2 separate regions of the Homo sapiens genome follow, and region 1 is linked to region 2. Evidence: promoter capture Hi-C in 16 types of primary human blood cells and fetal thymus (Javierre and others, 2016). All regions are on one chromosome and are shown on one strand. Each heading gives the region's core, a stretch centred on a gene start or on the middle of the fragment in contact. The rest is flanking DNA. Distances are from core to core; before and after follow the strand shown. Region 1 overlaps PRKCH (protein kinase C eta). Region 2 holds the start of SNAPC1 (small nuclear RNA activating complex polypeptide 1).

What was found. Contacts are between HindIII fragments. The CHiCAGO score rates a contact against its expected background, and 5 or more counts as called.
Region 1: a contact is called between a fragment that was not itself captured here and the fragment with the promoter of SNAPC1 in region 2, in 4 of 17 cell types (total CD4 T cells, activated CD4 T cells, naive CD4 T cells and 1 more). The highest score is 6.7, in total CD4 T cells.

Annotation. Positions count from the first base shown.
Region 1 is chr14:61,427,763-61,432,935 of GRCh38, reverse strand. All of the region lies in intron 2 of PRKCH (protein kinase C eta), which reads right to left. Among named protein-coding and RNA genes, the nearest start is that of PRKCH-AS1, 110 kb to the right of the region's middle. The HindIII fragment of the contact is 5,538 bases long and covers 1-4,241 here.
Region 2 is chr14:61,759,236-61,764,393 of GRCh38, reverse strand. SNAPC1 (small nuclear RNA activating complex polypeptide 1) reads right to left here and starts at 1,974. Exons shown (of 10, transcript NM_003082.4): 1 at 1,806-1,974. The coding sequence starts at 1,933. RefSeq lists enhancers at 1,004-1,747, 1,748-2,491, 2,559-2,648, 2,492-3,235, 3,236-3,980. The HindIII fragment of the contact is 7,963 bases long and covers 1-5,158 here.

The DNA.
Region 1 (5,173 bases), core at 223-2,722, 330 kb after region 2:
GTATCCCCCCCACTTTTTTTTTATTAAGAAGAAATAAAGGAAAAAAAAAAAGAAAAAGGTAAAGGGGATCACGGTGGCTCACGCCTATTATCTCAGGACTTTGGGAGGCTGAAGTGGGAGGATCACTTGAGGCCAGGAGTACAAAACCAGTCTGGACAATATAGCGAGGGACTCTGGAAGTCATGTATTCTTTCTGTGCCTGGTGGCAGGCTTTTCTGGAAATGGAAAAGGCTGAGTCAAATAATCAGTGAAGTTCCTTCTAGCTCTTAAGAGTCCATGATCCCAGTGAAACTAGCGTTACTGCTGGGCGCAGTGGCTCGTGCCTGTAATCCCAGCACTTTGAGAGGCCAAGGCAGGAGGACTGCTTGAAGCCAGAAGTTTAAGACCAGCCTGGGCAACAAAGCAAGACCCTCTGTCTATTAAAAAAATAAAGTAAGAAACTAGCTTTCCAGAATGAGGGCAAAATAAAGATATTTCAGAAAACTGAGATTGTTCACTACCAAATACCTTCGCTAAATAAAGAATGTACTTGAAGAGAATCTACTTGAAGAAGGAGGGAAATGTTCGAGGGAAGGTTTGAGCTATACAAGAAAGTGGTATGTTAAAAAATTATAAACATGTAAGTAAATAGAAACAAAGAAGGATGGAATAACTAATAACATCTAGTTAATGGAGCTTCAAAAGAAAAATAAAAAGATATCAAAAATATCAAGGAAATGCACATAAGCCAGGAGGAAAGTGACTGGAGTTAAAAACATTCTAACATCCTTAGATTGCTCAGTAGGAGGGTAAAGTGGTAGCTAACTTTAGACTTAGTTACACAGACATGTTAAAATTCCAAGTATAATCACTTAAAAAAAAAAAAAAAGAGAGAGAGATTCTATCTTCCAAACCAATAGAGGTGGGAAAAAATGGAATTGGTAGAGACAGTGGTAGAGGGAGAATCTCAATAAACTTCTAGAAATAGGAAATCTAACCACCTGTTGTTTATAAAGCACAAACCTAAGACATAGGTAGAAAAAGTAGAAAGTAAATGAATTAAAGAAGATGCAAAGCAGGGCAAATACTAGCCAAAAGACATGCAATGCAGCCACATTAACGTCAGATAAAATACACTGTAAAAGAAAGAATTGCTAGAAATAAAAAGAAGTGATTGTATAATAAAAGGTTTTACCAGGAAAATATAACAGTATATTTGTATATATTCAGTAGCAGAGCTTTAAAGTAAACCAACAAACAGCATTTACTCATTACTGCAGAGCTATACTGTTGCAGAGCTGAGTGGTGTCCTAGGATTACATTCCCTTCTCTAAGCATGCATTCTAGAACACTCTAAAAAGAAAAAAAAATCCAAATGGCAACATTAGCAGCAGCGAATCCATATGGGTCTGCAGCAACTCGATTCTTGCTTCCTTGGAGGAAAGAATTTGGCCAGAGAGGATAAGGTAGAATGAGACCAAGGCAAGTTTTAGAGCAGGAGTTAAAGTATATTAAAAAGTTTGAGAACAGGAATGAAAGGAAGCAAAGTACACGTGGAAGAGGGCCAAGTGGGCAATTTGAGAGATCCGAGGACCCTGTCCGACGCTTGACTTGGGATTTTTACACAATGGCATGGTGCTGAGGTTTGTGTCTCTCCTCCCTTGGTTTTTCCTTGGGGTGGGCTGTCCGCATGTGCAGTGGCCTGCCAGCACTTGGGAAGGGCCGCATGTACAGTGTGTTTACTGAAGCTGTGCACATGTTCATTTGAGGCATTTTTCCCTTACCAATTGAGTGTTCCTAGAGGAAGGTCATACACCAGCTAAACTCCACCATTTTGTCTCTTAGCATGCAAGTTTGAGCCCACTCATCCAACGCCTGAGATCCTATGAGGAAGCTACTGATTGGCCGGGTGCCGCGGCTCACGCCTGTAATCCCAGCATTTTGGGAGGCCGAGGCGGGCGGATCGCGAGGTCAGGAGATCCAGACCATCCTGGCCAACATGGCGAAACCCCATCTCTACTAAAAATATAAAAAATTAGCCAGGCGTGGTGGCACGTGCCTGTAGTCCCAGCTACTCGGGAGGCTGAGGCAGGAGAATCGCTTGAACCCGGGAGGCAGCGATTGCAGTGAGCTGAGATCACGACACCGCATTCTAGCCTGGGCAACAGAGCAAGACTCCATCTCAAAAAAAAAAAAAGGAAGCTGCTGATTAAGAGCTTAAGGTGTTTTCTATCTACTGGGAGTCTGCTTTCCCTGGTGCAAGCTGTGACCAACTAGTATGTTAGTGAGACAGTTTAACAACCACCTGACCATCACCTGATGGTTGCCTGACATTCCTGTGGGGGAGGGGGGCCTCTCCTGCCCCGCTCATATCTGCCTAACTACTCTAACAGCAAGGTCAGATATAGTCCCTATTCTTTTATTCCACTGGCTGTTCAAAATCATACCATGGCTGGCATCTGCTTTTCTATTGACAGAGATATGCTTCATTTGTCTTGGGTAAATACCTAAGAACTGCTGGGTAACAAGGTAGTGGTCTGTTTAGTTCTGTAAGAAACTGCCAGACCATTTTTCAAAGCGGTTGTACCATTTTGAACTCCCACTAAAAATATGAAAAGTTCTAGTGCTCCACAGTCTCACCAACATTTAGTGTTGTTGGTCTTTTTCATTTTAGCCTTTCTAGTGGTATCTCATTGTGGTCTTAATTTGCATATCCCTAAAGCCTAAAATTGCTGAGCATGTTTCTATGTGTGTATTGCCCATTCATATTTCTTTTGAGAAAATGTCTGTTCAAATCTTTTGCTCATTTTTTTAAAATTGGGCTGTTTGTCTTTTCATTGAATCATGACTTTATTTAGGGGGACACAGTCACTGTTTTTCCTATTAAGAAAAGCAACATATGCCTCTACTCTTGATTCCATGGAATTTACCTGATAACTCTTTGCCCAAGACTATGTATGTGTAGACTGAAGGTAAAGAAGGTTTCAGAAAGGTTAGGGATCATGTTTACTTTTTCTGCATACATATTGGAAGACAGCGGGGTAGAGAGACTAAAACCTACAAAATCCCATCTATATAGTATTATTCTGGCCAGCAGATAGACAAAAATCACACTTCTGCCAAGTTTTTATACCGTCTCTAGCTGAATAAGAGAAACTAGTTAAATTTTAATATTTTAAAATTTTAATAAGATAATTCAAATTACATTGTTTCTGCTTCCTCTCTATTTACAATTCCTAGTACATATGGGTTTTTATTTTATTTTCCTGGCGTCTTTAGAATGGGTCTTGTTAGTTTCATTGTCAAGTTCTTTATTAATTGAAACAGATTTGATTTTAGTAACTGCCACTGTAACTAGCCAACTATGACACAGTCCACAAGACACACATTCTAGGATTCCCTGAGGCCCTGAAAACAATGGGTGTGACTATTCTCCATTATCTGAAAGTAATGTACTCAGTTATTGTACAGACTGATTTTTAAAAGAAATTCCTCAAATCCTTCTTTGATCACAAAGACAAAAAACAGTGGACGAGAGCATATGCTCTCTAACTGTAAAGCATTTATAAATGTTGCTTCACCATCTGTCTTTGAGAAACAGAAGGTTGCCTCAGTTCTATAGGTTTCTATTTAAGCTGTTACCCAAAACTTACAAATTGGTTCCATAACATGAACATAGTAATCCTGATGAAAATGGTATAAAAATCTGTGCCCTTTCTGGTCTTCCAGTCTACTTTTTCTGTTTCATGTTTGTATTGAAGAAGAGGGTAGGAGCCAGTTTCACTTGATTTGCAAGGAATGAAACCTTTCATGCTTCCTTCTATTCTCCAGACCAACAGAAACTCATGCAAAATGCTAGGAGTCCCTAAAACAATTCAGAGGTAATTCCCTCTTGCTTTAATTTTGTTTCCTTTAAGAACTTATTTTTAACCTTTGGCCTTGACTGTGGAACACAGGATAATGATGGAATGTCAACTATGACATGCAGAATTCTTTAAACCATCTAAGCAAAAAAAGAAAAAACTATAGTTACACATATCTTGCTCCACCTCTCCTCCAAAAAAAGGTATTTTAAAGAGACAGAGTAAAAGCTAGCTACAGGGAAAAAAAAATGTTTTTAACTTTCATAGGCAATGATTGAATTTCAGAATCAAACCAGTGGGGAATACTTTCCGTGATTGATAGACACAGAAATTTTTCATTTTCCCAAAACAAGAGCTCCCACTAAAGCATTTTTGGTGTTTAAGGGCCAGGTTAAAGCTTTACTCAGACATCGAAGTAAAGTAGATCAATTATCAAAAAATCTATGTTGATAAGGTCCTACAACAAACCACCCCAGGCTCAAATAAGACAGTAAGAAAGTTTAAGCTATTCTCAGCATCTGGTAGAGACTGGTTATATGGTGAGGACTTAAAAGAGGAAAGCTCTTCACTTTGTAAACCAAAAATAAAATTTTAAGCTCCCCCTACTGACTGAATGGACCCCTTCTCAACCAAGGGGATTAAAAAAAACCCCTGAAAAACTAGTGAAAGCCATGACGCAAAGAGGGAGTCAGACATGCCTCATTATATCCTCTCCCTTTTGGAGTTTAGACTCAACTGACCAGCATTAACACTAAAATAGAGACCTAAAACCGACAGAATAGACCCTTATTGTTACAAAGGCTAGAGTGCAGAGCACCTATAATCCCAGCACTTTCGGAGGGTGAGGCAGGTAGACTGCTTGATCCCAGGAGTTTGAGACCAGTCTGGGTAACATGGTGAAACCCTGTCTCTACAAAAATACCAACTCAACCTGACTCTGGTATAGCATCGTGTGAGATACATATATATATATATATATATGTGTGTATATATATATGTGTGTGTGTGTGTGTGTGTATCTATCTATCTATCTATCTATCTATCTATCTATATATATATATTTGTGGAGATGAGGTTTCACCATGTTGCCCAGGTTGGTCTCAAATTCCTGGTCTTAAACGATCCACTTGCCTCAGTCTCCCAAAGTGCTAGGATTATAGGTGTGAGCCACCACACTCAGCTAGCATCACATGATAGATAAAGGTAACAGCTGGGTGAAGTGGCTCATGCCTGTAATTGCAGCACTCCAGGAGGCTGAGGCAGGTGGATCACTTGAGCCCAGGAGTTTGAGACCGGCCTGGGTAACATGATGAAACCCTGTCTCTACAAAA
Region 2 (5,158 bases), core at 725-3,224:
TCCTTGCAATTTAAAAAACTACAAAGGTAATTTGCTTACACTGACAGAGAGAAAATGAGTTTTTACATTTTGTTCAGAAAAAGTTTTAATCATAAGGTTTAACTCATTCAGAAAATCAGTTATTTCGCCTTTTTAATATTATATGTACTATGGTAATAAAAATAGATTCATCCAGTCACTGTCCTCACAGAGGTCAGTCTAGTCAAAGGAAAATTTTAAAACGGTAGTAATAATGAACATTTGACCAGCCTGGCCAACATGGTGAAATCCCGTCTCTACTAAAAATACAAAAATTAGCCAGGCTTGGTGGCACAAGCCGTAGTCCCAGCTACTCGGGAGGCTGAGGCAGGAGAATCTCTTGAACCCGGGAGGTGGAGGTTGCAGTGATAGGAGATCGCACCATTACACTCCAGCCTGGGTGACAGAGCAAGACTATGTCTCAAGAAAAAAAAATAATAATAATGAACATTTATTGAGCACTTAGAATGTATTTCTGATATATCAGCTCATTTAATCTTCACAACTACTATGAGGTTTATCATTGCCTCTATTTTACAGATATGGAAACTCAAGTAACTTGCCCCAAGTCATAGCGGACCCTGCAATCAAATGCAGCCAATTGGGTTCCATAACCTATGCCCTTAACAATCCCACACTGCCTTTTCAACTATACCATTACAACAAAATGTGGAAAGCGGTGACATAAAATAAAAACAGGGTGCTATGCGGGGAAAAAACATGAACAGCGTACTCAGTCTAGAAGAGCAAAAAAGACTTCCCCCGAGGATGTCATTTGAGCTTAACCCTGAGTGAAGAATAAGGTGGACAAAACAAGAGAGTTGCGGTGGAAACTCCAGGATTAGGAAAAGCCTGTAGAGGGCCCAAAGAAAAAAAAAAAAAAAAAAAAGCAGCTGCTGGAGCAAGAAAGTGAGTGCATGGAGGGGACTGGCAGGCGAAGCTGGAGAGATAGGCAAAGGCCAGTGAGGAATGGTCTTGGCAAGTCAGAGAATTCAAGCGTTATCCCAAAGGCAATGGGCACCACTACAGAGTAATAAGTCGGGGAGTGACATAATCAAATTTGCACTTTTGAAAAACAACTTTTGGGCCGGGCGCGGTGGCTCACTCCTGTAATCCTAGCGCTTTGGGAGGCCGAGGCGGGCGGGTCACGAGATCAGGAGTTCGAGGCCAGTCTGGCCAACATAGTAAAACCCCGTCTCTACTAAAAATACAAAAAATTAACCGGGCGTGGTGCCGGGCACCTGTAATCCCAGCTACTCCGGAGGTTGAGGCAAGAGAATCACTTGAACCTGAGAGGCGAAGGGTTGCACTGAGCCGCGAACGCGCCATTGCACTCCAGCCTGGGCGACAAAAGGAGACTCCGTCTCAAAAAAAAAAAAAAAAAAAAAAAAAAAGACAACTTTGGTTGTTGGAGGAAAAATTAATTCAATCTTGAAGGGTTTTGTCTTTGCTTGTGTGTTTTTAAACATCAGGTCCTAGAACAAGACTGGGGAAGGGCAAATGATAGTGGCCTGGCTCAGGGTGGAGATGGGAGAGAGGAGTTTAGAAGGGAGGCCAGGCAGAGACGCATATTTGGGAGGAGGCCGCAACAACCATCAGGGCACAATGAAATAGAGCAGGGAAAGCGCGTTGCCTGAGCACAGGGGAAGGTCCAGGAGTCATGGAGGCAACCTTCGGTGACTGCCGCTCTTCTCAGCCCTTCACAAGTGCAATATCGCCGGGAAGGAGGCAACTTTCTACACCACCTGCGGGCAGGGAGAGGCGGGTGGTGGACAAGAAACACCCACCAGAAGATAGTCCCGAACTTCATGTTTCTCCAGAGCTCCGTGAAGTCCTCGAAGCGTACACTGTCCGTCTCCTGGAAGCGGCTGAGCAGCGCCTCGCAGTCGGTCTGCAGGCCGGGAGGAGTCCCCATGGCACCCGAAGCCCGCACGCCTCCGAAGCCCGCACGCCTCTAACGGACTAGCCAGCGGTGGTCGCCCAGGAAACCAAGCCCGAACGGCCCGCCCCCTACGGCGTGCGCACACGCGCTCCGTGATGCATTATCCGGCACCTTTAGCTCCGCCTTTATCCGGGCTCTTGCCACCGGTCGTGTGCTTACTGCGCGTGCGTGAAAGCGTTCTGATGTTTTACTGGCTGAGATTGCTTTCACCCAGAGTGCTGAGATCCACCCTTCTTTGGAAGAGGTTTACGTCTAAAGTGTTGTGTTTGCTCACGAGCGGTTTTAGGTCTTCATTTTCCGCTAGGTTATGTAACTTGACTTTACCCTTACTAGCACTCTCCTTTAAACTGACCCTAGTGTGACATAAGTGAACTTTTGAGCTAGGAAAGAACAGTCCCAACCCCAACCCCACTCCCACTTGGGAAGAGAAGCTAAAGAAGGCTTGCTAGGAAACAAACTGCACTCATTCTCCTTCTGGTCATCGAGAACCCTAATACTCTGTACCCACATAATACGATGCTTAATGTGCGGCCCTCTCTTTGTAGCCCTGGCATTCTGCAACCACTCTTGAAAAGAAGAGCTGCATTTCATACCCTCTTGTAAACAGCCCTCCTCCTGCCCTGCCACGCATTCACCCCTGTGCTACATAGCACTTAGCAGAAAATACCTACTTGTTATATTCTTGTTATATTATTATTTGGATGAATTGCCTTTTTGTGTACACGCTGCCACCTAGCTTCCTTCCTCCAGGAGCTAGCTATGGAGTAACATTTTGAACTTTAGATCATTTCTCTGATTGAAAGGTAAGCTATCATTCTTTAGAAGAGGTATCCTGATATAATAGAAAAACATTGGGCTTTCTGTGTGTAAATGGAGTGTCAACTCACTTTACTTTTCTGATCCTTGACCTGTTTTTGTTTGTTTGTTTGTTTGTTTGGATTTGTTTGTTTTTTGTTTTGAGACGGAGTTTCGCTCTTGTTGCCCAGGCCGGAGTTCAGTGGCGCGGTCTCGGTTCACTGCAACTTCCGCCTCCCGAGTTCAAGCGATTCTCCTGCCTCAGCCTCCCGAGTAGCTGGGATTACAGGCATGCACCACTCCAACCGGATTTTGTTTTGTTTTGTTTTGTTTGTATTTTTAGTAGAGACAGGGTTTCACCATGTTGGCCAGGCTGGTCTCGAACTGCTAACCTCAGGTGATCCGCTCCCCTCGGCCTCCCAAAGTGTTGGGATTACAGACGTGAGCCACTGCACCCTGCCCTCTTGACCTGTTTTTTAAATGTTATGTAATATTTTATGTCACAGAAAAATTTATGCGATGTGTGAGATAAAAAGCATAGCAGTTAAACACCTGTACACCTTTCACCTGTGTAGGAACCAGAACATTACCAACGCCTTCACATCAATCTGCGATTTCCTCCTCTGACCTATTCCTTTGACTGTACCCTACTTTAATCACAGCTACTGGTTGGGCACGGTGGCTCACGCCTGAAATCCCAACACTTTGGGAGACAAAAGCAAGAGGATTGCTTAAGCACAAGAGTTGGAGACCAGCCTGGGAAACATGGTGAAAATTAGCCGGGCATGGTGGTGCACACCTGTAGTCCCAGCTACTCGGGAGGCTGAGGTGGGAGGATCATTTGAGCCTGGGAGATGGTGGTTACAGGAGACAGAGGTTGCAGTGGTGAGCCGAGATCGTGCCACTGCACTCCATCCTGGGCTACGGAGTGAGACCGAATCTCAAAAAATAAATAAATAACTACCTTGAATTTTGTTTCTCTTTCTCATGTATATATTTTATCACATATGTATGTATATTTAAACGGTATATTTTTTAGTTGTGGTTGGTTTTGAGTTTTATGAAAATGGTATTGCAACTGGCTGGGCGCAGTGGCTCACGCCTGTAATCCCAGCAATTTGGGAGGCTGAGGTGGGTGGATCACCAGGTCAAGAGTTCGAGACCAGCGTGACCAAAATAGTGAAACCCCGTCTCTAATAAAAACACAAAAATTAGCTAGGCGTAGTGGCGTGTGCCTGTAATCCCAGCTACTTGGGAGGCTGGGGCAGGAGAACCACTTGAACCTGGGAGGCAGAGGTTGCAGTGAGCCAAAATGCATTATTTCCCCCATGATAGAGTGGGGGAACCATTTGGGAAATGGTTCATTACAACAGATAATTTGAGAAGCACTGTTATACACCATTTCAGTCCACATTCCATTGGCCAGAACTCAGTCACATGGACCCATTCAGGTGCAAAGGTGGCTGAGAAACGTCATCACTAATTAGGCAACCTCTCCCCAACAATAGTTTCAATCGCTGGAAGAGGTGCACACGTCTTTGTTGGACCACGTATTAGCTCATTTCTGCTGCTATAACAAAATACCATAGAATAGGTAGCTTACAAACAACAGAAATTTATTTCTCACAGTTCTGGGAGGCTGGGAAATCTAAGATCAAGGTGCTGGCAGATTCCGTGCCTGGTGAGGGCTGCTCTCTGCTTTCAAGATGGCACCTTGTTGCCGTGTCCTCACATGGCATAATAGCGGAAGGACAAAAGAGGCCTAGCTAGTTCCCTCCAGCCCTTTTATAAAATCACTAATCCCATTCATGAGTCCTCATGACTTAATTACCTGCTAAGGCCCTACCTCTTAATGCTATCACATTGTTAATTAAGTTTCAACACATTGATTTTGGGAGACATTCAGACCAGAACAGACTGCCAACATGTCTGCTGCAATTTTATTCAGAAACTCTGAAAGTATTACCTTTCACTTTTAATTTACTGTCATCCATCTAAAAATTTATTTCTATGTATGGTATAAGGATCCTATTTCACTTTTTTCCATATGTATAACCATATGTATGTATATGTATTTCCCGTATGTATAATTTTCCAGCATCTGTTATTGAAAAGTCCATCCTTTCCCAAAATTCACTTCTGTTATATGTCAAGTTGCATGGCTAATTGCAAACAGTACACAACTATGGCTTTGTACCTGTTATTAAAATACCAAACCATAGTGCAGTATTTCCATTACTGTTAGTATAACAGTTACCACTCTAAGCCTCCTTACTACCCTCATCCCAAACACTTGGGCCCCCCAGGCCACAAATCCCTCAACCTCCCAGCCTCTAAAACTGAAGTGGTTAAGCCTGGCACAGGAAGGAACCTTCAGTGCCGGCTCCAGCTTCAGTCTACTCC